Regions from separate parts of the Homo sapiens genome. Here regions 2, 3, 4, 5, 6 and 7 are each linked to region 1. The links are contacts of gene promoters, found by promoter capture Hi-C in blood cells and fetal thymus (Javierre and others, 2016). All regions are on one chromosome and are shown on one strand. The core of a region is centred on a gene start or on the middle of the fragment in contact, and the rest is flanking DNA. Distances in the headings are between cores, read along the strand shown.

Evidence for each region. The method cuts DNA at HindIII sites, captures the fragments that hold promoters and counts their contacts. A CHiCAGO score of 5 or more calls a contact.
Region 2: a fragment that was not itself captured here is called in contact with the fragment with the promoter of BLTP3B in region 1 in 1 of 17 cell types (activated CD4 T cells); the score reaches 8.5 in activated CD4 T cells.
Region 3: a contact is called between a fragment that was not itself captured here and the fragment with the promoter of BLTP3B in region 1, in 5 of 17 cell types (neutrophils, non-activated CD4 T cells, total CD4 T cells and 2 more). The highest score is 12.3, in neutrophils.
Region 4: a fragment that was not itself captured here is called in contact with the fragment with the promoter of BLTP3B in region 1 in 1 of 17 cell types (neutrophils); the score reaches 9.9 in neutrophils.
Region 5: a fragment that was not itself captured here is called in contact with the fragment with the promoter of BLTP3B in region 1 in 1 of 17 cell types (M0 macrophages); the score reaches 7.0 in M0 macrophages.
Region 6: a fragment that was not itself captured here is called in contact with the fragment with the promoter of BLTP3B in region 1 in 1 of 17 cell types (neutrophils); the score reaches 5.6 in neutrophils.
Region 7: a fragment that was not itself captured here is called in contact with the fragment with the promoter of BLTP3B in region 1 in 3 of 17 cell types (activated CD4 T cells, total B cells and naive CD8 T cells); the score reaches 6.3 in activated CD4 T cells.

Annotation. Positions count from the first base shown.
Region 1 is chr12:100,140,823-100,144,616 of GRCh38, reverse strand. It overlaps BLTP3B (bridge-like lipid transfer protein family member 3B), which reads left to right and starts at 1,743. Exons shown (of 21, transcript NM_015054.2): 1 at 1,743-2,025. The coding sequence starts at 1,982. BLTP3B-DT (BLTP3B divergent transcript) reads right to left here and starts at 1,562. Exons shown (of 2, transcript NR_186018.1): 1 at 1,274-1,562; 2 at 1-77. RefSeq lists silencers at 1,579-1,758, 2,079-2,328 and an enhancer at 1,435-2,198. The HindIII fragment of the contact is 10,318 bases long and covers 1-3,794 here.
Region 2 is chr12:102,121,504-102,125,297 of GRCh38, reverse strand. PARPBP (PARP1 binding protein) reads right to left here. Exons shown (of 11, transcript NM_017915.5): 2 at 1,257-1,412. The coding sequence starts at 1,409. Among named protein-coding and RNA genes, the nearest start is that of PARPBP, 3.2 kb to the right of the region's middle. RefSeq lists an enhancer at 3,712-3,794. The HindIII fragment of the contact is 1,013 bases long and covers 1,184-2,196 here.
Region 3 is chr12:102,055,485-102,059,278 of GRCh38, reverse strand. The region is part of intron 2 of WASHC3 (WASH complex subunit 3); the gene reads left to right. Among named protein-coding and RNA genes, the nearest start is that of WASHC3, 4.6 kb to the left of the region's middle. The HindIII fragment of the contact is 2,843 bases long and covers 788-3,630 here.
Region 4 is chr12:101,843,356-101,847,149 of GRCh38, reverse strand. No RefSeq gene overlaps it. Among named protein-coding and RNA genes, the nearest start is that of GNPTAB, 14 kb to the right of the region's middle. The HindIII fragment of the contact is 6,260 bases long and covers 1-3,794 here.
Region 5 is chr12:98,461,417-98,465,210 of GRCh38, reverse strand. No RefSeq gene overlaps it. Among named protein-coding and RNA genes, the nearest start is that of TRD-GTC1-1, 40 kb to the left of the region's middle. RefSeq lists a silencer at 1,109-1,482. The HindIII fragment of the contact is 1,744 bases long and covers 739-2,482 here.
Region 6 is chr12:98,487,649-98,491,442 of GRCh38, reverse strand. The region is part of intron 3 of LINC02453 (long intergenic non-protein coding RNA 2453); the gene reads left to right. Among named protein-coding and RNA genes, the nearest start is that of TRD-GTC1-1, 14 kb to the left of the region's middle. RefSeq lists a silencer at 618-912. The HindIII fragment of the contact is 2,579 bases long and covers 901-3,479 here.
Region 7 is chr12:98,507,715-98,511,508 of GRCh38, reverse strand. No RefSeq gene overlaps it. Among named protein-coding and RNA genes, the nearest start is that of TRW-CCA4-1, 5.4 kb to the right of the region's middle. RefSeq lists an enhancer at 2,597-3,140. The HindIII fragment of the contact is 8,186 bases long and covers 1-3,794 here.

The DNA.
Region 1 (3,794 bases), core at 494-2,993:
TCACAGCAGATTCAGAGAGACTCCAGCACAGCCACATGCTGGGAGCAGATTTCTGGCCAGCAAAAGGAAAGTGAGGTCTAGAAAATGGAAGTGAGGTACAGAAACAACTGGATTGCTTACAGCTCAGTGTTTGCCTTATTTGAACACAGTCTGAACAGTTGGCTACATCTGGCCAAAACTCAGTGATTGGCACAGGTGTGGGCTATGGTCGGTTTATACCTCTGCTTATTTTCATAAGTTCATGATGTACAGAAAAACCTTTAGGCTGAACTCAATTACGTAAGGAGGCAGTGTTAGGCTAAACTTGACTTAACACTGAGTAATTTTTTTTTTTTTTGAGACAGTCTTGCTCTGTCGCCCAGGCTGGAGTGCAGTGGCTTGATCTCAGCTCACTGCAACATTTGCCTCCCGGGTTCAAGCAATTCTCCTGCCTCAGCCTCCTGAGTAGCTGGGATTACAGGCGCCCGCCACTATGCCCAGCTAATTTTTGTATTTTTTTTTTGTAGACACAGAGTTTCACCATGTTGGTCAGGCTGGTCTTGAACTCCTGACCTCAAGTGATCTGCCTGCCTCGGCCTCCCAAAGTGCTGGGATGACAGAAGTCGTCATTTTAATCTCTGAAAATGTTAGCTCTGTTTGGGATTGGGTGGGGTGGAGGTGTAGAATTGTAACAGTTTTCCCTAGTTCAACAATTTCCTTCCTTCCTTACAGAACTTTTCATATGATATTTACACCTTTAGGTTCAACCTAGTGAAGTGGGTAAGGCTGATGATTAATCTATTTCACAGATGATTAAAATGAAACTAATAGTAAAGAAATTATTTTCCCCAGGATAACACAGCTAGAAAATACCAGAGCCAGGACTTGAATTATACACCTTCTAATTCCTAGGTCCTAGACTACTAGGAACCATTGTCAACCTTTACTTCCCTTAGAATAGCAATAACCAAAGGAAACATTAAATTGCCACATTTAGGTAAGGGAAAGGCAGGACACCTTAACAAAAGAAAAAAAAAAAACACCAAAAACAAAAACCTAAGGAAGAATATGAAGAAAGGTGAGTAGGTCAAGAGAGCAAAGCAAGCACAGGAGTTAATGGCCGATTCTTAAAACATTCTAAGGAGGCCGGGTGCAGTGGCTCACGCCTGTAATGTCAGCACTTTGGGAGGCTAGGAGGGTGGATCACGAGGTGAGAAGTTCGAGACCTACTGGCCAATATGGTGAAACCTCGTCTCTAATAATACAAAAATTAGCCGGCCGTGGTGGTGCGCACCTGTAATCCCAGCTACTCAGGAGGCTGAAGCAGGAGAATCGCTTGAACCCTGGAGGTGGAGGTTGCAATGAGCCGAGATCGTACCACTGGACTCCAGCCTGTGTGACAGAGCAAGACTTGTCTCAAAAAAAAAAACAAACAAGCAAAAAAATAAAAAACATTCTGAGGAAATGAATAAGGGAAGTAGGACGTGGAAGTAAAAATCAGCGACGGGTCAGCGATGGAGGCGGGAACACCAGCAGAGGGAAGGAGGGAGGATTAAGGCCAAGAAGGATGGTGTATTGAGAGTCAAGGGCCCTGTGTCGCGAGGGCTAAGAACCCTGGCGCCAATGCCACAAACCTCCCGCCCCCGCCCAGAGCCCAGCCAGAGCCCAGCCAGAGCCCGCCCAGAGCCCGCCCAGAGCCGGCGTTGGCCCCGCCCCGCCTCGTGCCGGCCCCGCCTGGAGCCGCCCCGCCCCCGCCCTCCACCGAGTCTCTTAGGTGATGCTGCAGCCAAGATGGCGCCCGCGGCGGCCGTGGCGGCCTGAGCGTGATGCTCCGGGTTCTCGGCGGCGGCTGTGGCCTTGGCCGGGGCCTTGGGTCTCTCCCGGTCGTGAGCGATCAGCGCCTCTCCGCCGGCCGGGCTAGCCGGGACAGAGAGGAGACGGCCACGAAGAGAGGAGGCAGTGAGCAACAGGACGAGACCGCGGCGTCTCCAGCCTCGGTACCATGGCCGGGATCATCAAGAAACAAATCTTGAAGCACCTCTCCAGGTCAGTGAGCGCCTCGGTGTCGGCGCCAGTCGGCCTCCACCCCAGCCCGCACTGGAGTCAGCCTGCGGCTTCGGGGGCGGCGGCGCCTGGCGGCTGTGCGGGAGGCGACCTTCGGACTTCCCCGCTCTGGCCGGGGCAGAGGTCGCGGCCCCGGATCTCTTGTCGCCGGCGGCGCCGGGGGCTGGCCTCACGAATCGGCCCCTGACGCGTCTTCTCCCAGGGTGGGCGCGCGGAGGAGCCCGGAGTGCGGAGCGCGGCGGGCTGGGATCGCTCCCGGCGCGGCGTCTGGGGGCGTCCCGGCTCGGCTCTGTGCGGTACTGAGCGGAGGCTGGAGGTGGCCTGGCGTCACCCAAGTGCCTGGTTAATGTGCTGGGCTCTAACTCGAGTTCGGTGCTCCTTCCCCTTGGAGCAGAGCGGTTCCGTTAACCGAGGGCTTCTGGCGCAGTGTGGACGCTCAGTGGAGGCTGTGTTCTCAGTGGAACGTTAACCTTGTGATTGTTCTGAATTCCTCCCACCTTGGCGTTCCCGCTCTGTGGCATCAGAGGGTGTGCCTGTTTGCACAGTTAGGATTTGTTTTAGGTAAATAAGCAGAGTTCGCAGCTTTGGCAGGTTCTTTCTGGAGTCCTATGAGACCCACATCATTATTACTGAACATTTTTTTTTTTTGGTTTTTGCTCTTTTTCCTCTGCAACTCTAAAATTCAGGGAGTTAACATCTGTGGTGATTAAACCCAAGACATGTCATTCTCTCCATTTCATAACGCGGTTTTAGTCAGAAACATGACTCAGTAAGGCTGGCAGTTTGTTACTGCTCTTGGCTTCTCCGTGTTTGTCTCAAGACACAGGCTAAATGTAGGCTCTTGTTCCAAGTTGTTACCAGCGAACTCAAAGCCCTTGGTTAGGATCCCTTTCTGTTCGATTTGTAAGTTAATTTTAACTAATTTTGGGAAGACACGGGTATGATTATAGACTTGTATAGTAAACATAATTCTTGATTCCCCAGATTGTCTTATACCACAGGTTATATATTGGGAACAGAATTCTACTTCTGTGATTCAGCAAATATTTTCCTCACTTATAATACTGAATAAGATATAGCACTTTTCTTAAAAGTAGCAAAGTATAGCAGCGTGTGTGTGTGTGTGTACATATATATACATATGTACATATATACATATACATATATACACATATATACACATACATATATATGTGTACTACATATATATGTGTATACACTACACATATATATGTGTATATATGTAGTATTTTTTTAGTAGAGACTGGGTTTCACCAGGCCAGGCTGGTCTTGAACTCCCAACCTCAGGTGATCCGCGGTCCTCGGCCTCCCAGAGTGCTGGGATTACAGGTGTGAGCCCCCACGCCCTGCATGAATATGTATTTCTTAATGTTATCACTCATTGAAAAGTTTCTTTTAAAATTATATATATGGCCCAATCTTGAACTATCTTATTTTGGAAGGTTTTATCTATTTTTAATTTATGTCCTCCCGCCTTTCTCATACCCAGCTCCACAAGAAAATACAGATCTGCAGAAAATGATTTGAATGCCTACTTTCTCACTCGTCCAAGGATGATGCTGCATAGCTAGTACCACTCTAGATGCTTGGAAGAAAAGTTAATTCAATCAACAGATAGTGCATTAGAGTTTAATTCTTTTATAGAACTCCATTTGAGAGGGGCTCTTAAAAATTAAGAGCATGCATACCAAAGTATAATAAAAAAAATTAAGAACAAAGATGTAATGGCT
Region 2 (3,794 bases), core at 441-2,940, 2.0 Mb before region 1:
TTAATAGCATTTATTATGTCCTAAAAGACTAAATATCTTACAGTACTAGCTATCTCTCCCTAGAAGGTTCACTCCATAAGAAGTGACTTCTTTCATTACTGTATTCCCAATTTTTACAATGATGTCTAACACACAGTAAAAACTCAATATTTGTTCAAAAAATGACTGACTACATAAAATAAAATAACATTTTGTCATTGTTTTCGAGATTCAAAATTTATCTTAACATGCATTGTTTAAAATATGCAAAACTGCCAACTATTCACAGGTAGAAAACACTATCCCTGTTTTAAGATTTTATACTTTTTAATTTTTAAGTGTTAAAATATTCTTCCTTTTTCAAAATGATGATCATAGTATATAGTAACTATTTTTTCTCAATGGCCTTATTTGCAAAAATGAGAAATGGTTAAAATCTGTCAGTGTCTAATAATTTTTTAGAAATTTTACTGTCTATGGAATCTAAAAATCTGGAAACTACTGACATATAAAATTAAAATAACTCATCAGAATGTCATTTCAATATCTAGCCCAACAGACCCATTGAAGCTAATTCTACCCTTCAAAAATCCTCTTCTCTAGTCAAGCCAGTATCTTTGCCAAGTTCATACCATGACTTTGATTCCCCTGAACCCTTCTTCTGAACTGACTTTCCTCATCATACCTCCTCTACAGCCTTCTCTTCCTTTATCTAAAATCTATCTAATATCACAAAGCCTTTCCTTACCACTCTATCCTACATTCATCCTTCTCTCATCTGAACACCTCTAACCCTTAATCTACGGCTTAAATCCAAACGCTAGTTTGGCTCAAGCTACCTAAGTAAGAATCACTTTGTGGAAATTTTTTAAAGGCAGTTTCCAGTATCCCGGTGCAGATTGGAAGAATTTCCAGGATTGGGGTACAAGAGCCAGTAGTTTTTAAAAGTTTAGGGAATGAAAAAAGTCTTATTAAATAAAAATAATTTGACCACAATAATAATAGTTACATGTTTATCCTAAATCTTCCTATTAAACATCAAATATGCATGTCCCGTGTATAACCATACATAAGAGCTTAATTTTGAAATAATTCATTTCAAATTCTATCATAACATTCTGACACAGATACACAGAGGCATTTGTGAAAATGGTGTATTATCACAGAAGGGCACATAATGTAAAGAAATTAATATTCTTAAGCTTAAGTTTATTCAAATGGGCAGCAATGAAATTTTGCTTTAAAAAAACAAGTTAACCCAAATATAGTTTACCAACCTGTTTGTTGTTCTCCGCCATAGAAAGCTGCAATGCCAAGAGCATGGAGTCTGCACCACATAGAGTAGTTCTCTCAGAGTTACAAAGAGCACGCCAATTTTTTCGAAACTCTTTAATCATATCCGAGACAGACTTCTGATTAAACACAGCCATTATCTTAAAGTAGGACAGAATACAAAGTTAAAGTATCTTATGTTAACCTGAAATTAACATTTAACATGTATAGGCAAGCACAGATAGAGAAAAACATATAGTGAATGAGAGGTCATTTCATATTTACCAAGATTGCTTTTAATTAAATTTAGGAAAACAAAATAATACAATTTCTGCGCAATCATATTTCCCTCCCCTTTGGTTTCTTAAGCCAAACCTTCTGAAAGAACAAAATGTAGCCTTCAATTCTGAAAATTCACACAAAAACAGACATGCAAATTTACTGCAAACTTATAATTACAAATATACCTAATTAAAGCTGTATTTAAATATATATATTTGTTTTGAGATAGGTAATAAGTCTGATAAATTGGGAAAAAAAAAAAAAAACCTAAAAAGCCAATTTCCTCCCATCCTACGTTGTCCCAAAAGAGGTGGCCTATTTTTCTACCCTTTTGAATCTGGACCAGGCTTGTGACTTGATTTAACCAATAGAATGTGGCAAGAATGACGCTGTGGGAGTTCTGAGCTTAGGCCTTAAGTGGTGTGTGCAGAAGTACTAATACAATAGGCCTGAATGCTCTCCTTTGAAGCTGGAGTCCAGTTTGGGAGCTTAGATTTCAGGAGTGTTTCCAGTAAGAGTGGTTCACTGTGCTAAACTGTTCATACAAACAATATAGTTTATGCTAAACACTTGCGAGTCTGGAATTTTGGTACATGTCAGACAGTGGATGCCTTTGCATTTAGCCCCCAATAAAAACCCTGGGCATTAAGTCTCTAATAAGCTTCCCTGGTAGACATTTCACATGTGTTGTCACCACCTATTACAACAGGAGGAATTGTGTCCTGTATGACCACTAGAGTATCACCAAGCAGTGTCCCACCCAAACTGCTGATCCACAGAATCAGAAGGAAATGGTTATTTTAAAACCTTAACTTTTGAAATGGTTTGTTACACCGTACTACATAACCAATAAAATAACTAATATTTAGGAGCTAACTTGGTGGAGATACTTTTCAAAAGCTTAATATTGATTACCTCACTCGACTGTCATAAGTGTCCAATAAGACAGGTCTGTTATTATCCTTATTTTACCTAATAACCTCCACGTCACTCAGCTTGTAAGTGGACAAACAGCATAAACTTAATATGTCTAACTCTATAAGCTGTGTTCTTAAAGCATCATGTTAAGTAACTTCTCCTGATGCACACAAAAGCCTTTCAAAATAATTTGAGGTAGTGCCAATGTTTCATATACCCAAGACTATATAAGGCATCCAATTCCTTTCTCTGAGTTTACAGACATGCCTGCTAAAAGTTTTTTTCCTACTTTAAGTACTCAAGTCTCAACATACTCACATGCCCATCATCTTATTTTGGGTATTTTCCTGTACTTATTCCATTTCCTGACTCCTTCTGCTATCCTTTTCTTCTATTTTTATGTGGCATAAACAGAATCCTAGATGTTTACTTTGGTTTGTATAATCAAGAGCAAAGATACATGCCACTTGCAATATAATTAAATTATAGACACAATCTATGATGCAACTTAAAGATACAGGTAGAAGATTAGAGATTAATTATTTACATAAATGCAAATCCTAGTAAATAGCTAAGAATTGTATTTCTCTTCAAAAAATCACCCTCATCTCTTGAAAGAAAAAAGAAAGTGAAGAACTGTCAGCTTCAGTGACATGGTCACTTTGCCTGAAATACATTTTTAGGAGTAAATTACTTACTGGTATTATTTAAAGGTAGTATTATGAGATTTGATTGCTATGAATGAAGACTCACTTGGGAATTAGGCCATTCTGAAATGTGGCTCCACCACTTACTGGCTGCGAGATCTTGGCCAAGTTACATCACCTTTCCCTGCCTCAGCTTCCTCATAATGAAAATGAAAACCCTATCCCATAGGGTTTTATGACAAGTCAACGACATAAACACAAGTAAAGCTTTTAGAACAGTGCCTGGCATGTATAAAAGCACATTAGCTATTATCATGCATTATGAGTTTCTAAGTTGTTTTGAGTTAAAAGTAAAAGAGCATTGCCTGGGCATGGTGGTTCACACTTGTAATCCCAGCACTTTGGGAAGCCGAGGCTCACCTAAGGTTAGGAGTTCGAGACCAACCTGGCCAACATGGTGAAACCCTGTCTACTAAAAATTAGCTGGGTGTGGTGGTGTGTGCCTCTAACCCCAGCTACTTGGGAGGCTGAGACAGGAGAATCGCTTGAACCAGGGAGGCGGAAGTTGCAGTGAGCCAAGATAGCACTACTGCACTCCAGCCTAGGTGACAGAGTGAGACTCTGTCTTAAAAAAAAAAAAAAAAAAAAAAAAAAGAGCATTACTATGGTGACAGAAAACCAAGAGTCTCATTCAGG
Region 3 (3,794 bases), core at 960-3,459, 1.9 Mb before region 1:
ATATGAATACATTGTGGAATGGCCAAACCAAGCTATTTAACATAAGCAATGCCTCACGTACTTACTTTTTTTTGTGGTGAGCACACTTAAAATCGCCTCTCTTAGCAATTTTCAATACAATATATTGTTATTAACAGCAGTCACCATGACATGTAGGAGATCTCTTGAACTTATTCCTCCTGCCTAACTGAAATTTTGTATCCTTTAACCGCATCTCCCCAATCCTCTTAACCCCAAGCCCCTGCTAACCACCATTCTACTCAATATTTCTATGAGTTGTACTTTTTTATCCTCCATATATAAGTGAGATCATTCAGTATCTGTCTCTGTTTGACTGGCTTATTTCATTTAACACAATGTCTTCCAGTTCATTTATGTTGTCACAAATGACAGGATTTCATTCTTTTTTAAGGCTAAATAGTATTCCATTGTGTATATATACCACTTTTTTTAATCCATTCATCCATTGATGGACACTTTTGATTCCGTATCTTGGCTATTGTGAATAATGTTGCAGTGAACTTTCAAGTACAGATGTCTCTTGAATGTACTAATTTTACATCCTTTGGATATATACCCAGAAGTGGGATTGCTGGATCATATAGTAGTTCTATTTTTAATTTTTTGTGGAACCTCTGTACTATTTTCTATAATAGCTGTACTAATTTACATTCCCACCAACAGTGTACAGAGGTTCCCTTCATCACATATATGGTTTCCAAATATAGTCTCCCATTCCATAGGTTCTCTTCACTCTATTGATGGTTTCGTTGGCTGTGCAAAAGCTTCGTAGTCTTTTAAAATAATTTTTAAAAAATAATTTAAAATCCAGATTCTACAAACTTCTTAGTGTGATGTAATCCCATTTATTTATTTTTGGTTTTGTTACCAGTGCTTTGGGGTTTATATCCAAAAAAAGTCATTGCCCAGACCAATGTCGTGCAACTTTCCCCTTATGTTTTCTTCTAGTAGTTTTACAGTTTCAGGTCTTACATTTAAATCTTGAATCCTTTTCGTGTTAAATTTTTTTATATGGTAAAGGATGAGGGTCTAATTTCATTCTGCATGTGGATATCCAGTTGTCCCAAAATGATTTATTGAGACTGTTATTCTTAACATCTGTGAAAAGTATGTTTCTGTAACTGTCTTTTCTGTGTTCTTAACATCTTTCTCAAAAATCAATTGACTTTAAATGCATGGATTTATTTCTGGGCTCTTTATTCTGTTTCCTTGGTCTATGGCTGTTTTGATTACTGTAGCTTTGTGGTAGATTTTCAAATCAGAGAGTGTGATCTCTCTGGCTTTGTTTTTTTGGCTTAATATTGCATTGCCTGTTCAGGGTCTTTTGTGGTTCAGTATGAATTTTAGGATTTTTTTTTCTATTACTGTGAAAATATTATTGGAAAATTGATAGGGATTGCATTGAGTCTGTAGATTGCTTTGAGTGGTGTCAACCTTGTAACAACATTCATGTTTCCAATCCATGAACACACGTTATCTTTCCATTTATTTGTGTCTTCTTCAATTTTTTTCATCAATGTGTTATAGTTTTCAGTGTACAGATCTTTCACCTCACTGGTTAAATTTACCCCTATGTATTTTTTTTGTAGCTATTGTAAATGAGATTTTTTTTCTTTTTTTTCAGATAGTTTACTTTTAGTGTATAGAAATGCTACTGATTTTTGTATGTTGATTTTATATCCTGCAGCTTTACCAAAGTAGTTTGTTAGTTCTAACAATTTTTTGGTGGAATTTTTTATAAGATTTTCAATATATAAGAGCATGCCATCTGCGAACAGAAACAATTTCATTTCCTTTTTTCCAATTTCAATGCCTTTTATTTTTCCCTCTTGTCTAATTACTATAGCTAGGACTTCTAGTACTATGTTGAATAGAAGGGGTAAGAGTGAATATCCTTGTCTTGTCCCTCATCTTAGAGGAAAAACTTTCAGTTTTCACCATTGCGTATGATGCTAGCTGTGGGCTTGTCATAAATGGCCTTCATTGTGTTGAGCTAGATTCTTTCTATACCTAATTTGTTGAGAGTTTTTATCATCAAAGGATGTTGAATTTTGTCAAATGCCTTTGTTCCATCTATTGAGATGATCATACGGTTTTTGTCTTTCATTCTGTTAATGTGATGTATCACCTTTACTGATTTGCATATGTTGAACCATCCTTGTATCCCAGGGATAAATCTGACTTGATCCTGGTGAATGACCTTTTTAATGCGCTGTTGTATTCAGCTTGCCAGTATTTTGTAGAGGATTTTTGCTTCTATGTTCACTGGGGATATTGACCTTTGATTTTCTTTTCTTGTAGTGGATTTGTCTGGCTTTGGAATCAGGATAATGCTGGCCTCCTAAATTGAGTTCGAAAGTTTCCCCTCCTCTTCAGTATTTTGGAAGAGTTTGAGAAGGATTTGTATTAGTTCTTCTTTAAATGTTTGGTAGAATTCAGTAGTGAAGGCATCAAGTCCTGGGGGTTTTGTTTAGTGGGAGACTTAACTACTGATTTGATCTCTCTACTTATTATTGGTCTGTTCAGATTACCTATTTCTTTATGATTTAGTCTTGATAGGTTGTATGTGTCTAGGAACTTATCCATTCTAGGTTATCCAATCTGTTGGCATATAATTGGTCATAGCAATCTCTTATGAGCCTTCATATTTCTTTTGTTTTAATTGTAAAGTCATGTTTATTGGAGTATGAACTTATATGCAGTAAAATTTACCATTAAGTATGAGATTGGACAAATGCATAATCATACCATAATCAAGATGTAGAATAGTTGTAGAACAAGATATAGAATCACTCCAAAAATTCCCTCATGCTCCTTTGCAGTCACCCCTTTTTTATCCCTAGGAATGCATTGTTCTGTTTTCTGTCAAAAGGGCCAAATTTAATCACTGCAATGGTCTCCAGTACTGTGGAAAAATTCCTGAGCATACAAAACACACAAACCAAGTTTTTAAAAAATGAGATACTTTTAAAAATGTCTTTAGCATATCAACCAAATGAAGGTAGCTTCATATTTTACTACAGATGCTCAGATATCTTAGGCAGAATTAAGTCCACCATTGCCATATATATGCCTCAACAGTAATATTTAAGAGTAGACTGTAAAAATAAACTTACAATCTTTAGAATCGTCAAAACAATGGGATTATTAAATGACCTTTGTAAGTTAAAGCAAAGTTTATAAAGTTGTCTTACATAGTTGTGAAATAGCTAGTCTAGTTAGATAGAATTAACGTCTCCTAAAACTGACCTGCTTGAAGAACTACTGTAGGTCATGTCTTTGTAGGTAGAGTATGTGAACGAAGATTAAGTACTTGCTCTTTTGTGTTAACACTGTGTCAAGTTTCAGACTGGGGCTGGTTGATAGAAAAACTAGTTAAAAAAAACTATTTTAAATAATGGAATTGAATTTTATGGAAATTCTCTGTGGCACCAACTCAACCACAGGACAGAAACAAAAAATTCTCATCTAAACATTCCTGTAGAAAATTGGGACCATCTAAAAATTCACCCCAGCTACCACCATGAAAGAAACAAAGAAAGCAAAAACTTCTGTTCTGAATATATCAGTGGTCCCATATTCAGATACTTCTTATCTACTTGAAAAGCTTTGATGGGTGGGGCACGGTGGCCCACACCTGTAATCCCAGCACTTTGGGCCCAGGTGGGCAGATCACCTGAGGCTAAGAGTTCGAGACCAGCCTGGCCAACATGGTGGAATGCTGTCTCTACTAAAAATACAAAAATTAACTGGGCGTGGTGGTGCACACCTGT
Region 4 (3,794 bases), core at 355-2,854, 1.7 Mb before region 1:
CCTTGGAGAGAAGGAAGTCTTTAACTTTTTACTCTATGCACTTTTAATTGCTTTTATTTTTATGAGTATGAATTGTTTTAGAATAATATAATTTTTTTTTCTAGGGATGGGGTCTCGCTATGTTGGCTAGGGTGGTCTCAAACTCCTGGCCTCAAGCAATCCTCCCACCTCAGCCTAGCACTCCCAAAGTACTAGGGTTTTTTTTTGTTTTCTTTTTGAGACGGAGTCACGCTCTGTGGCCCAGGCTGGAGTGCAGTGGCACCATCTCGGCTCACTGCAAGCTCCGCCTCCTGGGTTCACGCCATTCTCCTGCCTCAGCCTCCCAAGTAGCTGGGACTACAGGCACCTGCCACCACGCCCGGTTAATTTTTTGTATTTTTAGTAGAGATGGGGTTTCACTGTGTTAGCCAGGATGGTCTCAATCTCCTGACCTTGTGATCCACCCGCCTTGGCCTCCCAAAGTGCTAGGATTACAGGCGTGAGCCACCGCGCCCGGCCTCAAAGTACTAGGATTACAGACATGAGCCACCATGCCCAGCCAGAACAATATAACATTGAGGTCAGTTTACAAAAGACAAAACAAAGGTGAAACATTTACAGAGAAAACAAGCAGCAGGGAGAGCTATAGGAGATTTTGTCTTCTTTTACATGTTTTGTACTAAGAATATAATAGTTTAAGAAAATAAAACTAAACTTTAAAAACAAAAAGAATATTAAAATGCATTTCAATCATACATGAAAGCAAATATTTACTATTAGCAGTAGGTTTTTTTGATTCTCAACTATATTTATGTAAAATTTTTAGCCAGGTTCTGCGGCTCACGCCTGTAATCTCAACACTTTGGGAGTCCGAGGCAGGTGGATCACTTGAGGTCAGGAGTTCAAGACCAACCTGACCAGCATGATGAAACCCTGTCTCTACTAAAAATACAAAAATTAGCTGGGCATGGTGGCATGTGCCTGTAATCCCAGCTACTCAGGAGGCTGAGGCAGGAGAATCACTTGAGCCCGGGAGGCAGAGGTTGCCGTGAGCCGAGATCGTGCCACTGCACTCCAGCCTAGGTGACAGAGTGAGTGAGACCCTGCGGCTGGGCTGGGTGCAGCAGTTCACACTTGTAATCCCAGTGTTTTGGGAGGCTGAGGTGAACTCAGGGGTTTGAGACCAACCTGGGCAACACAGCAAAACCCCATCTCTATTTACCCTAAAATTAAAAAAAAAAAAGAAATTATTAAGTGCAGTGGCTCACACCTGTATTCCCAGCACTTTGGGAAGCTGAGATGGGGGATCACTTGAGGCCAGGATTTGAGACCAGCCTGGGCAACATACTGAGATCCCATCTCTCAAAAAAAATAAATAAATTTAATTAGCTGGGCATGGTTGTGCTTGCCTGTCATCCCAGCTACTCAGGAGGCTGAGGTGGGAGGATCACTTGAGCCCAGACCTCAAGGCTGCAGTGAGCTATGATTACACCACTGCACTCCAGCCCGAGTGACAGAGTGAGATCCTGAAAAGAAAGAAAGAGAGAGAGAGAGAGAAAGCAAGCAAGAAAGAAAGAATCTTCTTTAGAGTAACCCAGTCCACACAGAAAGTAATTCACTGGTCATTTCCACTAGAAAGAGATTAGTCTGACTAGCTGGTTATGATCTTATTGTAGTCTTGTTACTATGGTTACTGAAGTCGCAGTGATGTGCTTGCTGGTGTTGAACATCTTTGGAAGTTATCATTGTGGATGCTGCCACTTACTAGTGAAATGTGTTGACTCTGTTGCCATATTCTGTCATTTGGACAAGGAATTCAGGCAAGTTGTAGGCCCATGTCCACCGTGAACAGATCATTCATTTATTTATTTTACAAGCGTTGCTGAGTCCCTACCCTGACAGAATGCTGAGGGGCACAATGAGGATTTGAAGTATGAAGCACAGACCCTGCCCTGAAAATGCTCATTCAAGAGATAAGTACACACATGAGGATTTTAATTAAACCGTGATGTTAAGTACCATGAAATTGTGAAGTCTCACATTTATAGAGGATTCAACAGTCCAATCCTATGAGATGGGTAATGCCAAATAAGGGATAAGAATTTACTAACAGGAAAAAAAAAAATCCATGAAGGGAGTTGGAGTGATTTCTGAGGTTCCAGCTTAAGAGGCTGGGAGAGTAATGGTGCCATTGATGGAGGCACAGAAGTTAAAACAGGGAGATGATTTAGGCACAAAAGATGGTGAGGGCCGGACGTGGTGGCTCACGCCTATAATCCCAACACTGGGAGGCCGAGGCAGGCAGATCACTTGCAGTCAGGAGTTCAAGACCAGCCTAGCCAACATGATGAAACCCCATCTCTACTAAAAATACAAAAATTAGTCGGGTGTGGTGGTGTGTGCCTGTAATCCCAGCTACTCGGGTTGCTGAGGCAGGAGAATTGCTTCAACCTGGGAGGCAGGAGGCTGCAGTGAGCCGAGATCACACCACTGAACTCCAGCCTGGATGACAGAGAAAGACTCTGACTCAAAAAAAAAAAAACACGGTGAGATGGTGAGATGTTTGCTTTAGACCCCGAATGTATTGGCTAGTTTTCATTTGCTCCCAGATTCATTCCCATACCCTTTGCTGACCACATGGACGGTTTTACACAGACTCTCCTAACCTCTGGTTTCAACCAATGGGAGGCACCAGGAAGAGATCAAAGGGGTGTTTCTCTCCTGCCTAGCTGCATCCCTTCTCACAGTGCTGCATCCCTCCACTATGGTAGGGCCTGTCATTTAGTTTCCTTCCCACGGCTCCAGCTCTCACCATGCTTACATAACACCAGTTTCTTGATGACATCATCAGATATCTCACTGCCTTCTATAAAATTTCTTTTTTTCCCTCCTTCTTTTTTTTTTTTTTAGAGATGGAGTCTCACTGTGTCCCCCAGGCTGGAGTGCAGTGGCGCAATCTTGGCTCACTCCAGCCTGTGCCTCCCAGGTTCAGTAGATTCTCATGCCTCAGCCTCCTGAGTAGCTGGGACTACAAGCACCCACCACCACACCTGGCTAATCTAGAAATTTTCTTGAAGACATTATAGTTGCCATGAAATAAAATGTAGAAGTAAAGCAGAGGGCAGAGGTCTAGTCTATGTGAACTGAACCACCACCTAGAAACGGCAGGAGGTAGACTACAACCCAGAAAAGGAAGTCATCAAAGATCTTCCAGAAAAATCAGAAACGTATTCTGTCCTGGACACCAAAGTAAGACAACATTTCAAGAAAAGATTATTGAAGACATCCAATACTGCAGGAGGGTCAAGGAGAAGATAAACCAAAATATACTACTGGACTTGTTAGTTAGGATTCACTATATCCACTGCATTTCATTATTTCAGACGTTAGTTTTAATAGAAGCAGGAGTAGATGCCAGGTTGTTGAAGGTTAACCAAATTTAAAAAGTGGGCAGAGGGTTTGAAGAAGACTTTTCAGCAAAGAAAGCACACAAATGGCATGCACATATAGTGGCACTGTTCACCTATAATGAGTTTATTTTATTTTATTTATTTTGAGACAGGGTCTCACTCTGTTGCCCAGGCTGGATTACAATCTAGTGTCATGATCACAGCTCACTGCAGCCTCGACCTGCTGGGCTTAAGCAATCCTCCCACCTCAGCCTCCCAAGTAGCTGGGACTACAGGTGTGTGCCAACATGCCTAGCTAATTAAAAAAAATTTTTTTTTTGTAGAAATGGGTCTCACTATGTTGCCCAGGCTAGTCTGGAACTCCTGAGCTCAAATGATCCTCTCTCCTTGGCCTCCCAAAATACT
Region 5 (3,794 bases), core at 361-2,860, 1.7 Mb after region 1:
TGTCTCCCAGGCTGGAGTGCAATGGCAAGATCACGGCTCACTGTAGTTTCAACCTCCCAGGCTCAAGAAATCCTCCCACCTCAGTCTCTTAAGTAGCTGGGACTACAGGCATGAACCACCATGCCCAGCTAATTAAAACAATTTTTTTTTTTTTTTTTTTTGTAGAGACGGGGTCTCTCTATGTTGCCCAGACTGGTCTCAAACTGTTGGGCTCAAGCAATCCTCCTGCCTTAAGCGATCCTCCTGCCTTGGTATCCCAAATTGCTGGGATTACAGGCGTGAGCTATTGTGCCTGGCCATTTAAAAATATATTACACAAAATAAACATGATGGTGTTATAAAACCTGTGATTTCTGAGTTGCTAGTGTTTAGACTAATAGTCCCTAAATTTATTTAGGCAGCAAAAAGTGCATTGATTAAAAAAATTAAGTAAGTAATTTCATAGGAGGTAGGGAGATATTGCAAAAATGCTGTGGGTGGTTCATGGCTGGATAAGCAGTTTGGGAAAACATTGCTGTTTGCAGCCTGTGGCTCCTTCAACCTGTAGTGGCATGGTGGGAGATCTAGGTCAACAGCGATCTGCATTCCTAATAACTCTGTGACTTTGGATAAAATATGAATAATAGCCTTGAGAAGCCCCATCTTCCTCAGCAGTAAAATGGGAACAGTAATAAATATCTCACAGGACTTATGTGGGGATTGAGTTCCTTTTCCTTCAGCCTTGAAATATCAAAAGCTTAGTTATCTGAACCAGCTCTGCTGAGTGTGGGGGTGGGGGTGGGCTCCTGGCAGCTGGGTTGATGTACAAAAGAACATTTTGTAATCATTGGCCTCAAATGTGGGTTGCCAGTGATAAATATATAGGGCTGAGCAATATGGGAAGTGAATTGCGATAAAGTGGTAGGAACTGATGCAAAGAACCTCTGATGAATCACAGCTGAAGTCAACTTTCTATTATTTCTGGGTCTTATGCATTTAATGAGTTACAATGTCCTTCATTTCTCCCTCTTCAATATGATCATGTCACAGTTCATAAAAGTGAGGGAAAGAACTCTAGATACAATCTGACTTCTATCTTAGATGTAGGAAAAACCTTTGTAAATTCAATGTTAATTTCTAGAAACACTCTAGGATGGTTTACTAAGCAGATGATATGTGAGCACTTAAAAGAGAATATTTTTTGATCATCAGGAGTTGCATGGATTTTCTGGGATTCAGAATTACTTTGACCAGTCTAAGCACTTGGCTGAAACCAGCAAGGTGAAATGGAGAGGGAATAATAGAGCTAAAATCTACTGTTTCCTAGCAAATGGTTAGGCACTGTGTTAGATGTTATCTCATTTAATCAGCGCTGAAACTCCTGAGTGTAGATATTGCTATTAAAATGCCTTTTTTTTTTTTTTTTGAGGTGGACTCTGGCTCTGTCACCCCGGCTGGAGGGCAGTGGCAGAATCTTGGCTCACTGCAACCTCCGCCTCCTGGGTTCAAGCAATTCTCCTGTCTCAGCCTCCTGAGTAGCTGGGATTACAGGCACCTGCCACCATGCCTGGCTAATTTTTGAATTTTTAGTAGAGATGGGGTTTCACCATGTTGGCCAGGCTGGTCTTGAACTCCTGACCTCAGGCCACCCACCTCAGCCTCCCAAAGTGCTGGAATTACAGGCATGAACCACTGCACCCGGCCGATATTACTATTAAAATTCTTATTTTACAGATGGGGAAACTGACTTGATGAAGTTAAGTGACTTGTCCCAGATTTTGTAAATAGAGATTAAATAGTTCATTCAAGATCATCGAACAAGGCAGTCTATCCCTAGAGCTGGCACTCTTTTCTCTCTCTCTTTTTTTGAGAAAAGGTCTTGCTCTGTCACCCAGACTGGAGTGCAGTGGCATGATCATGGCTCACTATATCCTCGACCTCTCAGGCTCAAGCAGATCGTCCCACCTCAGCCTCCCAAGTAGCTGGGAGCTGGGACTACAGGTGCACACCACCATACCTGGCAAATTTTAAAATTTTTTGTAGAGATAGAGTCTCCATATGCTGCCCAGGCTGCCCTAGAACCCCTGGGCTCAAGTGCTCCTGCCTCGGCCTCCCAAAGTTCTGGGATTACAGGTGTGAGCCACTGCACCCAGCCTGGAGCTTTTGTTCTTTTTTGTGAGATGGAGTCTCGCTCTGTCCCCCAGGCTGGAGTGCAGTAGTGCGATCTTAGCTCACTGAAACCTCCGCCTCCCAGGTTCAAGCAATTCTTCCTGCCTTGGCCTCCCTAGTAGCTGGGATTACAGGTGTGCGCCACCATGCCTGGCTAATTTTTGTATTTTTTAGTAGAGATGGGGTTTTGCCGTGTTGGTCAGGCTGGCCTTGAACTCCTGAGTTCAGGTAATCCACCCACCTGGGCCTCCCAAAGTGCTGGGATTACAGGCGTGAGCCACCAAGCCTGGCTGAGCTTTTGTTCTTAACCTCTGTATTGTGCTATGTGAAAGCTTAAAAAATGTAGAGACCAGGAGCAGTGGCTCATGCCTGTAATCCCAGAACTTGGAGAGGCCAAGGTAGATGGATTGCTTGAGCCCAGGAGTTTGAGACTGGCCTGGGCAACATGGCAAAACCCTATCTCTACCAAAAAAAACCTCCCAAAACCAGAAAACACAACAAAAATTAGCCAGGTATGGTGGTATGCTCCTGTGGTCCTACCTACTCAGAGGCTGTGGTGGTAGGATCGCTTGAGTCTGGGAGGTTGAAAGACTCTGTCAGAAAAAAAAAAAGTAGAAACACAGGAAGGGGAAGAGGGTTCCTAAATGGTACAAGAGAAAGAACTTGGTCTTTGGTGTCAGGCAGGTCTTGTTACAACTTTGGCTGGCTCTGCCATTTAGCAGTTAGTTGACCTCAGGCAAACTACTTAAACTCTACAAACCTCAGATTTCTCATCTGTAAAGTGGATGCAGTAATATATACCCCATAGAATTCCTGGGAGGATTAAGTATGATGAAATATAACCATACAACTAGGATTCATGGGATATGATCAGCATTGTACCAAGTGTTTTATTTTATTTTTGAGACAGGGTCTTCCTCTGTCACCCAGGCTGGAGTGCAGTGGCCTGAACATGGGTCACTGCAGCCTCGACCTCTTGAACTCAAGCAGTCCTCGCACCTCAGCCTCCCGAGTAGCTGAGACTACAGGCATGTGCCACCATGCCCAGCTAATTTTTTGGATTTTTTTTTTTTGTAAAGATGGGGTCTTGCTATATTCCCCAAGCTGGTCTCAAACTCCTGGGCTCAAGCAATCCTCCCACCTTGGCCTCACAAAGTACTGGGATTATAGGTATGAGCCACCACACCCAGCCCTGTACAGAGTATTTTTTTTTTTTTGAGACGGAGTCTCGCTCTGTCACCTAGGCTGGAGTACAGTGGCACAATCTCCGCTCACTGCAAGCTGCGCCTCCTGGGTTCACGCCATTCTCCTGCCTCAGCCTCCCGAGTAGCTGGGACTACAGGCACCTGCCACCACGCCTGGCTAATTTTTTGTATTTTTAGTAGAGATGGGGTTTCACCATGTTAGCCAGGATGGTCTCGATCTCCTGACCTTGTGATCCGCCTGCCTCGGCCTCCCAAAGTGCTGGGATTACAGGCGTGAGCCACCTGCCCGGCCATGTACAGAGTATTTTAATTAAGGCAATTTACTTAATCTTTACAACAACGCTTTGAGGCAGGTATGCTCATCATTACTATTTTACAGATGAGCAAACTAAGGCTTAGAGAGATTAAGCGACTTGCCCTTGGTTACACAGTCAGCCCATG
Region 6 (3,794 bases), core at 941-3,440, 1.7 Mb after region 1:
ATGTTGAGTAATGTATTCTAGTTTGGTTTTCCTTGTTAGCCAGATTTCATTATTTTGCAGCTTAAGTTGTTTATTTCTAGTTCCTTAAGGTGGGGAGGAGGTGAGGAGGTGAGGAGGGTGAAGAAGCAAATTCCACTTCAGTAAAACAGGGCGTGCAGCCTTTTCCCCTGAGTCCCTTTGTCTCAAGGCCCCTGTGTTCCGGGTCTTTTGTTGTTCTCTGCATGGACTTTGATTCGAGATTTAAAGAAAAACAAGTGCTGGCCCTCCTTGCGCCCTCTGGTGTCCCAGTGAGGTATAACCGGACAAACCGCACAAAGATCACAGCCATTTTCACACAGCGCTCCCCCGACACAGTGATGCCTGGAGACGGGAATGTCTGGAATCTTAGAGGAAGGAATCACACACCGACAAGCATGGCAGGCTTAGTCTTTGAAACTTAATCAGAGCCTGTAAGTATGGATACTGTTTTTTAAAAAATTAAAAGCAGTATCTGGACTGCAAGTATTTAAAAAACCTAATAGGAAATAAGTCAACTCTCAAAGCATTTGGCACAGCTTTCTGGGTTCTAAAACTAAGAAAATCTTACTACATATGTTGTTTTATAAATACAGCATAAACCAGTACTTTGTTATTTGTTTTAAAAATTTCTTTTAGAGACAGGGTCTTGCTCTGTCACCCAGGCGGGAGAGCAGTGGTGCAATCTTAGCTCACTGCAGCCTTGAATTCCTGGCCTCGGGTGATCCTCCATGCTTCCGCCTCCCAAAGGACTGGGTTTACAGGTGTGAGTCACTGTGCCTGGCCTAGAACTTTGGATTAATTGCAAATAAATTAGGTGAAAGAGAGGTCTGGATACCTAGGCTTTAGCTTGACTGAGGATAATGATTTCCGCAACTTTAAGCTTTACCATGTAGACCAAAAATAAAATTCTAAGCTCCCCAATCAGTTGAATGGATGCCTCCTTGTCCAGGGGCATTCCAAAGTTACCTGAAACGCTAGTTCATGTCATGATGGGAACAGGTGGTCAGACAAGCCTCATTATACTCTCCTCCCTTTGGGACAGAGTCCCTTTGGGATTCAGGCACATCTGACCAGCATTAACATAAGTCTGACAAAGAAGGCTTTTTGTAGCAGTAAGATACCAACATGACAGACAGCAGGCCCTGAAGTAAATTGAAGTAGTTTACCCCAAAAAATATATATATATTTTTGACACATTTTGAAATGGCCCTGCAAAGGTGTCTCTTGTGGGGAAAATCTACTTTCAGTAGAGAATCCCCTTCCCTTTCCAGATATTTTTCCTTAACCAGGAGAGAATTTACTGAGAGTCTTGCACCTTAAAAAGGTAAAAAATAAAATTTTTGGCTGGGCATGGTGACTCACGCCTATAATCCCAGCACTTTGGGAGGCCAAGGCAGGTGAATCACCTGAAGGTCAGGAGTTCGAGACCAGCCAGGCCAACATGGTGAAACCCCATCTCTGGCTAATACAAAAATTAGCCAGGCATGGGGTGGGGGTGTGGGCGCCTGTAATCCTAGCTACTTGGGAGGCTGAGGCAGGAGAATTACTTGAACCTGGGAGGTGGAGGTTGCAGTGAGCCGAGATCACACCATTGCACTCCAGCCTGGGCAACAAGAGCGAAACTTCGTCTCAAAAAATAAAATAAAATAAAATAAAATAAAAAAAATAAATAAAAATTAAAAGTTTTACAATCTGACCTGGTGCTGTGGCCCACTCCTGTAATCCCAGCACTTTGGGAAGCCGAGGCAGGTGGGTTGCTTGAGCCCAGGAGTTCGAGATAAGTCTGGGCAACACGGTGAAACCCTGTCTCTACTAAAAATACAAAAATTACCAGGACGTAGTGGCGCGCATCTGTAATCCCAGCTACTCCAGAGGCTGAGAGGTGCGAGGATGGCTTGAGCCTGGGAGGTTGAGGCTGCAGTTAGCTGAGATTGCACCACTGCACTCCAGCCTGGGTGATGGAGTGAGACCCAGAAATAATTACAATGTGTTCTTTCTGAAGCCTGCTACCTGGAGGCTTTATCTGCATAACAAGAACCTTGGTTTTCGCAACCCCTTATCTTAATTCAGGCACTCCCTTCTATAAATTTCAGGTCTTTAGATAAACTCTTTCAACTAACTCCCAATCAGAAAATCTTTGAATTCACTCATGATGTAGAAGCGCCCCATCCACCCTCACTGAACCAATGTACATCTTACATGTATTTTTTGATGTCTTCTGTCTCTCTAAAATGTGTAATAAAAAGCTGTAGTCCGACCACTTTGAGCACACGTTCTCAGGATTTCCTGGGGCTGTGTCACTGGCCATGGTCACTCATATTTGGCTCAGAATAAGTCTCTTCAAATATTTTACAGAGTTTGACTCTTTTCTTCATCGACAATCAATATGTGAGAGTTGATACTGAAGGTCCCTTTTGTCTATAATATACTTCATTCTATCGCATTTTTCACCAGACTGTTTTGTTTGGTTTTTATAGAGATGAGATCTCACTTTGTTGCCCAGCCTGGTCTCTTGGGCTTAGGAGATCCTCCCTCCTCAGCCTTCTAAAGTTCTGGGATTACATGTGCGAGCCCCCACCCTCAAACTGTGCCTTTTTTTTTTTTTTTTGAGCCCGAGTCTCACTCTGTCACCCAGGCTGGAGTATAGTGCCACGATCTCGGCTCACTGCAACCTCCACCTCCCGGGTTCAAGCATTTCTCCCTGCTTCAGCCTCCCGAGTAGCTGGGATTACAGGCGTCCGCCACCATGCCTGGCTGATTTTTTTTTTCTTTTTTTTTGTATTTTTAGTAGAGACAGGATTTCGCCATGTTGGCCAGACTGGTTTTGAACTCCAGACCTCAGGTGATCTGCCTGCCTCAGCCTTCCAAAGTGCTGGGATTGCAGGTGTGAGCCACTGCACCTGGCTAAACTGTGCTTTTTAAAATTGTATTTCCACTAAAAAAATGTAGATGTAAAATATTTTTGGTTTAAATACTTGATTGATAAGATCTCAGGCGTGGTGGCCCATGCCTGCAATCCCAGCACTTTGGGAGGCTGAGGCGGGTAGATCACCTGAGGTCAGGAGTTCGAGAGCAGCCTGGCCAACATGGTGAAACCCCATCTCTACTAAAAATACAAAATTAGCCTGGCATGGTGGCATGCGCCTGTAATCCCAGCTCGGGAGGCTGAGGCAGGAGAATTGCTTGAACCTGGGAGGTAGAGGTTGCAGTGAGCCGAGATCACACCATTGCACTCTAGCCTGGGCAACAAGAGTGAAACTCCATCTCAAAAAAAAACAACAACAAACAAACAAACAAAAAAACCTCAGGCATTACAGTTTTATTTGAATAGGCAATTCATGCACACAGAACAAAGTTCAAAAAGTACCAGATACCAGGAGGTATAAGGTATGGAGAGGAAAGTCTTTCTCCCATTTTTTCTTCTCTTTTCTTTCTTTTTTTTTTTTTTTTTGAGACAAGCTTCTTTCTGTCACCCAGGCTGGAGTGCAATGGCGTGATCCCAGCTTGTTGCAACCTCTGCCTCTCGGCTTCAAGCAGTTCTTCTGCCTCAGCCTCCAGAGTAGCTGGGATTATAGGCATGCCACCATGCCCGGGTAAGTTTTGTATTTTTTAGTAGAGACAGGGTTTCACTAGGTTGGCCAGACTGGTGTCGAACTCCTGGCCTCAAGTGATCTGCCTGCCTCGGCCTCCCAAAGTGCTGGAATTATAGGCATGAAACACATGCCCAACTTCTCTCCCATTTCTAACTCACAACAATTCTCTTGAGTGATGTTGGG
Region 7 (3,794 bases), core at 841-3,340, 1.6 Mb after region 1:
CTGTAATCCAAGCTACACGGGAGGCTGAGGCAGGAGAATCACTTGAACCCGGGAGGCGGAGGTTGTGGTGAACCGAGATCGTGCAATTGCATTCCAGCCTGGGCAACACGAGCGAAACTCCATCTCAAAACAAACAAACAAACAAAAATCACCTGGATAACTGCCTCCATTCTTTTTTTGAAGTTCTTAATATTATTAACATACAGCTGGCTTTGTTTTTCATTATCCCATTTTGCGGAGGATTGGTTGTGAATTTAAGGGTGTCACCTCAAACAGGAGGGTAAGTTGCACTTTAAGTGATGTAAAATAGTAAGAAGCTAAAAACCTTAAAAAATGTTTAGTTCTCGGCCGGGCGTCGTGGCTCATGCCTGTAATTCCAGCACTTTGGGAGGCTGGGGTGGGCGGATCACTTGAAGTCATGAGTTCGAGCTCAGCCTGGCCAAGAAATTAAAAAATTAGCTGGGCCTTGTGGTGGGCGCCTGTAATCTCAGCTACTAGGGAGGCTGAGGTAGGAGAATCGCTTGAACCCGGGAGGCAGAGGTTGCAGTGAGCCGAGATCGTGCCACTGCACTCCAGCCTGGGCGACCGATCAAGACTCCATCTTAAAAAAAAATAATAAGAGGGGCCAGGAGCGGTGGCTCACACCGGTAATCCCAGCACTTGGGGAGGCCAAGGCGGGCAGATCACATCAGGAGTTCGAGACCAGCCTGACCAACATGGTGGAAGCCCCTCTCTACTGAAAATACAAAAGTTAGCCGTGCCTGGTGGCATGCGCCTGTAATCCCAGCTACTTGGGAGGCTGAGGTGGGAGAATCCCTTGAACCCGGGAGGCGGAGGTTGCAGTGAGCTGAGATGGCACCATTGCACTCCAGCCTGGGCAACAGAACGAGACTCGGTCTCTCAAAAAAAAAAAAAGTTTAGCTCCCTTAAGCCATTTCTGATAATTTATTCTAAAGATAAAATCAAATGTGGAATTCATTTATAAAGGTATTTATTGCTTCATTTATAATGGTGAAAAAAATAAAAAATCTCTATCTCCAATAGTAAGGAATTGGTTGTTTATGATATATCCATATGACAAAATAATGCACAGTAGTAAAAAATCATGTTTTGACATTTAAGAATATGAGGCTGGCTTGGTGGCTGTCACCTATAATCCCAGTACTTTGGAAGGCTGAGGTGGGAGGATCCCTTGAGCTCAGGAGTTTGAGACCAGCCTGGGCAACATAGGGAGACCCCAGTCTCTACTAAAAATAACCAAAAATTAGGTGGGGCCGGGCACGGTGGCTCACGTCTGTAATCCCAGCACTTTGGGAGGCCGAGGCGGGCGGATCACCCAAGGTCAGGGGTTCAAGACCAGCCTGGCCAACGTGGCGAAACCCTGTCTCTACTAAAAATACAGTAATTATCCAGGTGTGGTGGTGGGCACCTGTAATCCCCAGCTACTTGGGAGGCTGAGGCAGAAGAATCACCTGAACCTGGGAGGCGGAGGTTGCAGTGAGCCAAGATCTCGCCATTGCACTCCAGCCTGGGCAAGAGCGGAACTCAGTCTCAAAAAAAAAGAAAAAAAAAAAATTAGCTGGCATGCTGGTGTGCTCCTGTACTCCCAGCTATTGGGGAGGCAAAAAAAAAAAAAAAAAAAAGAAAAGAAAAGAAAAAAAATAATATACATCAAAGTGGAGTACTTTCTCTTGGATAGTGAGGCACAGGTGATTCTTATTTTCTTTTTATTTATATGTCTGTATTTCCCTAGATTTCCACAATGAACACATATGATTTTAAAACCATATTTTTCTTTTTAAGTGAGAGTGCTAAGTTGGAGAACCATTTGGCTTATCAGAATTCAGGTCTGCATTTCAATTCTGCGTGTCCAAAAGCTCAATTTTATTAGTTCGTCCAGAATACATCGCTCTGTAAACCAAGAGAATCGGAGACAGGTCTCAATCAATTTAGAAAGTTTATTTTGCCAAGGTTAAGGACACACCCATGACACAGCCTCAGGAGGTCCTGACGACATGTGCCCAAGGTTGTGTGGCACAGCTTGGTTTTATACATTTTAGGGAGACATGAGACATCAATCAATATGTTTAAGATGTACAATGGTCCCATCCAGAAAGGCGGGACAGCTATTAATACAAGTGGGGGTTGGGGGGCTCCGGGGTGTTCCAGGTCATAGGTAGATAAAAGACCAATGGTTGCATTCTTTTGAGTTGCTGATTAGCCTTTCACTGAATACACTATTTACAGGAATAGTCACTTATGTTAGTCTGGCTTAGGGAAACAAAAGGGCAATCAGATATGCATTTATCTCATATGAGCAGAGGGATGACTTTTTAAATCTCTATCTGTCCTTTGTCCACAAGGAATTTCTTTGTGGTCAAATTGTGAGGGAGGTATATATAGCTTTTTTATCTTAGTAGCTATCTTTTTTTTTAGGAGTAGAATGGGAGGCAGGTTTGCCCTAAGCAGTTCCCAGCTTGACTTTCCCTTTGGCTTAGTCATTTTTGGGGTCCTGATGTTAGAGGGGTTTGAATCACAGCACCTCCATGTTGAAAAAAGGGTGGGTAAGGCCGTGCACGGTGGCCCATGCCTGTAATCCCAGCACTTTGGGAGGCCAAGGTGGGTGGATCACCTGAGGTCGGGAGTTTGAGACCAGCCTGATCAACATGGAGAAACCCTGTCTCTACTAAAAATACAAAATTAGCTGGGCGTGGTGGCACATGCCTGTAATCCCAGCTACTCAGGAGGCTGAGGCAGAAGAATCGCTTGAACCCGGGAGGCGGAGGTTGTAGTGAGCCAAGATCGCGCCATTGCAGTCCAGCCTGGACAACGAGCAAAACTCCGTCTCAAAAAAAAAAAAAAAAAAAAAAGAAAAGACCTACTGGGCTGCATTCCCAGACAGTTAAGGCATTTTAAGTCACAAGACGAGATAGGAGGTCGGCAGAAGATACAGGTCATAGGCCGGGCACGGTGGCTCACGCCTGTAATCCCAGCACTTTGGGAGGCCAAGGCAGGTGGATCACGAGGTCAGGAGTTCGAGACCAGCCTGACCAACATGGTGAAACCCTGTCTCTACTAAAAATACAAAAATTAGCTGGGCGTGGTGGCGCGTGCCTGTAGTCCCAGCTACTCAGGAGGCTGAGGCAGAAGAATTGCTTGAACCTGGGAGGTGGAGGTTGCAGTGAGCTGAGATTGCACCACTGCACTCCAGCCTGGGCGAGAGTGAGACTCTGTCTCAAAAAAAAAAAAAAAAAAAAAAAAAAAGACACAGGTCATAAAGACCTTGCTGGTGAAACAGGTTGCAGTAGCCTGCCAAAACCCACCAAAACCAAGATGGCGATGAGAGTGACCTCTGGTTGTCCTCACTGCTACACTCCCACCAGCACCATGACAGTTTACAAATGCCATGGCAATGTCAGGAGGTTACCCTATATGGTCTAAAAAGGGGAGGCATGAATAATCCACCCCTTGTTTAGCATATAATGAAGAAATAACCACAAAAATGGGCAATCAGCAGCCCTCTGGGCTGCTCTGCCTATGGAGTAGCCATTCTTTATTCCTTTACCTAATAAACTTGCTTTCATTTTATGGACTCGCCTTGAATTCTTTCTTGTGTGAGGTTCAAGAACCCTCTCTTGTGGTCTGGATTGGGACCCCAGTAACACCGAGATTTTTCTTTCACAGGACTTAAGTAACTAAAATACTCTCAGAAAAGAAAGCAAGGCTATTAAACAGGTGAAATAAATGCTCAGAGCATTCTATAGTAGTGGATAAGTCCTCTTGCAAGAATACAT